2 separate regions of the Homo sapiens genome follow, and region 1 is linked to region 2. The links are contacts of gene promoters, found by promoter capture Hi-C in blood cells and fetal thymus (Javierre and others, 2016). All regions are on one chromosome and are shown on one strand. Each heading gives the region's core, a stretch centred on a gene start or on the middle of the fragment in contact. The rest is flanking DNA. Distances are from core to core; before and after follow the strand shown. Region 1 overlaps LOC105375566 (a long non-coding RNA gene). Region 2 holds the start of RARRES2 (retinoic acid receptor responder 2).

What was found. Contacts are between HindIII fragments. The CHiCAGO score rates a contact against its expected background, and 5 or more counts as called.
Region 1: a contact is called between a fragment that was not itself captured here and the fragment with the promoter of RARRES2 in region 2, in 9 of 17 cell types (non-activated CD4 T cells, activated CD4 T cells, naive CD8 T cells and 6 more). The highest score is 16.0, in non-activated CD4 T cells.

What each region holds. Positions count from the first base shown.
Region 1 is chr7:150,772,075-150,774,774 of GRCh38, forward strand. The region is part of intron 2 of LOC105375566 (a long non-coding RNA gene); the gene reads right to left. Among named protein-coding and RNA genes, the nearest start is that of TMEM176B, 27 kb to the right of the region's middle. The HindIII fragment of the contact is 1,816 bases long and covers 481-2,296 here.
Region 2 is chr7:150,340,237-150,342,936 of GRCh38, forward strand. RARRES2 (retinoic acid receptor responder 2) reads right to left here and starts at 1,393. Exons shown (of 6, transcript NM_002889.4): 1 at 1,342-1,393; 2 at 200-393. The coding sequence starts at 373. It overlaps LOC107986858 (a long non-coding RNA gene), which reads left to right and starts at 1,609. Exons shown (of 3, transcript XR_001745420.3): 1 at 1,609-2,101. RefSeq lists a silencer at 432-501. The HindIII fragment of the contact is 3,952 bases long and covers 1-2,613 here.

The DNA of each region.
Region 1 (2,700 bases), core at 139-2,638, 430 kb after region 2:
GGTGGTATATAAAATGGTGCAATTGGCCGGGCTCAGTGGCTCACGCCTGTAATCCCAGCACTTTGGGAGGCCAAGACAGGCAGATCACCTGAGGCCAGGAGTTCAAGACCAGCCTGGCCAACATGGCGAAATGCTGTCTCCACTAAAAATACAAAAAAAAAAAATTAGCCAGGTGTGGTGGCAGGCGCCTATAATCCCAGTTTCTCAGGAGACTGAGGCAGGAGAATTGCTTGAACCCAGGAGGCGGAGGTTGCAGTGAGCTGAGATCACACCAGTACACTCCAGCCTGGGCAACAAGAGCAAAACTGCATCTCAAAAAAAAAAAAAAAGTGGTGCAATGACTTTAGAAAACAATTGGCCAGTTTCTTAAAAAGTAATCTTACACACCCATAATATGACTCAGGCATTCCACTCCTAGGTATATTCCTAAGAGAAAAGAAATCATGTGTTCATAAATGTCTTATACCTGATCATTCATAAAGCTTTATCTGCAATAGGCAAAAGTTGGGAATAAACAAAATATCTATCAACAGGTGAATGGATAAACTAACTGTAGCATATCTATACAATGGAATATGACTTCTCAATAAAAAGATATGAGCTACTGATTCACACAACATGGGTGAACCTCAAAATTATTATGCTCAGTGGAAAAAGTCAAACAAAAGGAGTACATATAGTATATATGGTGTGATTCCACTTACTCTAGAAAATGCTCACTATTCTATAGTGACAAAAAGCAAGTCAGTGGCTGCCCGGGGATGGGGGTGAGAAGTGTCAGGAGGAAGGACTGACAAGGGTCATGAGGATATTTTGGGGGGGGCCAATGGATATGTGTCAAAACTTATTAAATCGTACACTTTAAATATGATTCTCTCTCTCCCACTCTGTCTCTCTCTCCCTCTGAATTCTCCCTCTCTCTCCCACTGAAAACTGGAATAAGACAAGGATGACCACTCTCACCACTCCTATTCAATATGGTACTGGAAGTACTAGCCAGAGCAATCAGGCAAGAGAAAGAAATAAAAAGCATTCAAATAGGAAGAGAGGAAGTCAAACTATCTCTGTTTTCAGACAATATGATTTTATATGTAGAAAACCTCATAGTCTCTGCCCAAAAGCTCTTACAGATTCAAGACAAACAACTTTAAGAAAGTTTCAGGATAAAAACTCAATGTACAAAAATTAGTAGCATTTCTATACACAAACAACGTCCAAGCTGAGAGTCAAATCAAGAATGCAAGCCCATTCGTAATAGCCACGCACACAGAAAAAAATAAAATACCTAGGCATTTTCAAATCTCTTTCAGTAAAATATCTTTCACCTCCCTAACCAAGGAGAGTTTTGTAATTCTCAACCCCAGTGAGGCGAAAGATCTCTACAATGAGAATTACAAAACAATGCTCAAAGAATTTAGAGATGACACAAACAGATGAAAAAACATTTCATGCTCATAGATAGGAAGAATCAATATTGTTAAAATGGCCATACTGCCCAAATCAATTTACAGATTCAATGCTATTCCTATCACACTACAAATTACCTTTTTAAAGAATTAGAAGAAACAATTCTAAAATTCATATGGATCCAAGAAAGAGCCCAAATAGTCAAAGCAATCCTAAGCAAAAAGAACAAAGCTGGAGGCATTACATTACCTGACTTCAAACTTTCCTAGAGAGCTACAGTAACAAAAAACAGCACGGTGTGGTACAGAAACAGACATATAGACCAATGGAACAGAATAGAGAGCCCAGAAATAAAGCCACACACCTACAACCATCTGATCTTCAACAAAGTCAACAGAAACAAGTAATGGGGAAAAGACATCCTAGTCAATAAATGGTGCTGGGATAACTGGCTACCCATATGCAGAAGATTGAAACCGGACCTCTTCATTTCACCATATACAAAAATCAACTCAAGGTGGATTGAAGACTTAAATGTAAAACCAAAACTACAAAATCCTAAAAGAAAACCTAGGGAATACCATTCTAGACATAGGCCCTGCCAAAGATTTCATGACAAAGATAACAAAAGCAATTGCAACAAAAACAAAAATTGACAAATGGGACCTAATTAAACTAAAGAGCCTCTGCACAGCAAAAGAAACTACCAACACAGTAAACAAACAACCTACAGAATGAGAGAAAATATTTGCAAACTATGTGTCCAACAAAGGTCTAATAACCAGAACCTATAAGGAACTTAAACAAATTAACAAGCAAAAACCCTTTTAAAAATGGGCAAAGGACATGAACAGACACTTCTCAAAAGAAGTCATATACATGGCCAACAAGCTTATGAAAAAATGAACATTACTAATCATTAGAGAAATGCAAATCAAACCCACAATGAGATACCATCTCACACCAGTCAGAATGGCTATCATTAAAAGTCAAAAAGTTTGGGAGGCCGAGGGGGGTAGATCATGAGGTCAGGAGTTTGAGACCAGCCTGGCCAACATAGTGAAACCCCATCTCTACTAAAAATACAAAAAATCAGCTGGGCATGGTGGCAGATGCCTATAATCCCAGCTACTTGGGAGGCTGAGGCAGGAGAATCGTTTGAACCTGGGAGGCGAAGGTTGCAGTGAGCCAAGATCGCGCCACTGCACTCCACTCCGGGTGACAGTGGGAGACTCCATCTCACCAAAAAAAAAAAAAAAAAAAAAAAATCAAAAAGTAACAGATGCTTGAGGT
Region 2 (2,700 bases), core at 143-2,642:
GTAGCCAGCTGAGGGTGCAGAGCAAGCCCTGGTGTGATCCGCACCTCCCTCACGCAGTCACATTCCAGCAGGCTGGACAGTGGCCTTTTCTCCAAAGGGCTGGGGCTCAGAGCCCAAGCACTTCTGTCCCCCTTCGTGGGAATGCGCTGGTCTCCTGGGGTACGACCCTCCCCGCTCCTGCCCGGGCCATGCTACTCACCGTGTCCACGGCGCTCTCCACACTGGTCTCCTGGAAGGCCCACTGCACGGGCGGGTGCTTGTGAAATTCCTCCAGGGCCACCTGCAGGCCCCGGCGCTGGGCTTCCGTGAGCTCGGCGACGCCCACGCCCACCGCACCCAGCCACAGGGCCAGAGGGATCAGCAGCCGTCGCATGCTTCCGTGTCACCCTGGCCCTGCGAAGCGGGTGTGCGCCCCTCAGCTCTCCGAGCCAGCCCGAGCCGCCTCCTCCCGCGCCCTGCTCTGGGGGGAGGGTGGGGAGCGGGGGCGGGGTCCAGGCCTGTAGAACGCTGGGCACAGGTGAAGGAGCCTGGAAATGGCCCTTTCTCCAAATTGACCTTAGGGTCCGCCTGGCCCTCTCCGTTCCCTCCCACCCTGCCCGCGCTGTTCCCTGGGGCCTGCAGTTTTAGCAAAGTTCCCTGCCCACGCTAGGAATCAGTCAGTTCGCACTCCCACCCTACACCCCTAATCTTGCCCATTGTGTCTCTCCCTGGGTCTCCGGCACGACCCACTCTCCTCCCTGCCGTCCCCGGAGCCCCTCTCTCCTTTCCCCGCTCAGCCTTCTCCCCAACCGCTACTCCCTCCCCGTCCAGAATCCCCCTGCTCCCACGGGGTTCCCCCCACGTCCCCGAGGTCCAGGCCAGCCGGGGGAAGGGGCAGGGGCCGGAGGCCGAATACTTTTGGGAGGACCTAAACACGTGGGAGGGTCCGGACGGGTGGGAGCGGCGGGAGGCCTAATCCTCCCGGCGCGGGGGCTGCCGCGGGCCACCAGCCAGCCCCAGTCGCTAGGAATGGGGGTCTCGCGCCGCCCAGCCCTTGGCTTTCCCGCTTCAGGCAAAATCTTCCCTCCTTCCTCTTTTTTCTGGGGCCTTCCCCACGACCCCTCTTCCTAGCCCTTCTGATCCGTCCCCTGATGCATGACTGGGGCCACCGGAGGGGCTGACCCTCCCGGAGAGCCCCGTCGGTCCTGGTGGTCTTGGGACCGGAGAGCGACAGATGTGGAAACCGAGGCCCCTCAGTGAAGAGCTGCCAGGGTGGTCGCCTTAGAGCAAAGGCGTTCCTCATTCCGCCTGCGCAGCTGCCCCTCCGCCCGGCTGCCGCCCCAGCCCGCTTCCCCTCCTCACGTCCTTCCCTGCGCCTGGAGGTCTCCCCTGACCGTCCCGCAGCTGAAATCTTGGCCTCGCTGTCCGCCTCTTCCCGCTCTTCTTCTCGCGGGGCGGCCCCCACCTCCTCCCACCCCCACCTCCTGGACCCCCTCCAGCAACTCTGGCTCCTCCCCTCCCCAGTGGGACCGGCCTCTGGGGCGGGATGCCCTCCCGCGCCCTCCCTCCCCATCCCACCCCCCTCCTTCCCCTCGATCCAGCCCTCATGACCCTGACCCTGGCCGCGGCTGCAGGCGGCTCGCCCAGGCGCGCAGCCCTCGGTCCCACCTCCCTCTGGCTCGGGCCTGAGCATTCCGCAGCCTCGGCCGGCCCGGGCCTCTTCTCCGCTGCTCTGCTCCCCCAAGGACTTTCTGTGCCCCACTCCTACCCAGGCAGGGCTGCCCTGTCTTGGGTCCTTTACGGGGGACCATTCCCCAGCGTCCCTGAGACACTCATCCTGGGATTTCTTCCCCTAAATACAGACATTCTCAAACCAAATGAGACCTCGAGGTCCCTACACCTGATCCTGCCTCCCACTCCCTGAGCCACACTGAGAAGGAAGGTCTCTCCTTTAGGGAGGACTCTGGCGCCTGCAACCTTGATCGACAGCAAAGATGTCCAGTGTGTATCCTGCATCTGCCTTTCCTGACCATTCCTCGTGCCCCATTCTCCGTGGGATAGATTCTCATGGGGAGTGGGGGAGCCTTCGGGTGTGGCAGAACGGCATGATGGAATTCATAAGGTGAGCAGAAACTCAAGGAAAACTGTCCAAATACCGGCTCGACTCCTGGGTACGCTGGAGCAAGGATGAAGAAGCTCTGAGACTTTGCACGTCAGTAACCACCAACACCATGCCTCTGGTTCCCACACCGCAGGGATCACCTGAAGTAGAGGATCTCATGTAACTTCATGGCTCTCTCTGAACTTCTGTTTCTTTATCTGTAAGATGGGGATCAGAAACTCTGTCTTAAGGAGTTGTTTTGAGGATTAAATGAAGAAACATGAAAAGCAACTGATGTCCAGTGCCGAGCACAAGGCTTTTGTCCCCTACTTACGCACCCCTAACCAGGATTCTCCACTTAGAGCTGAGAATTTCCTTTACAGTGTGCTCTGGGGGCACCAGAAAGAAACTCGGCTTCCATTAACCACTTCCAGGTGTCTGAAATCCCACCACTACTTAGGGTACTTCACTCCCCAGCTGTGAGCTACTCAGCCGCCCTTAAGCAGAAAGAGATGGGATCCGTGTTCCCTGAAAGCTTTAGATGGGGTTAGAGAGAAAAGATGCACCCAAAGATGTTTCCCAGCCCAAGAACTTGAAGGAAACCAAAATATTTCACCCCA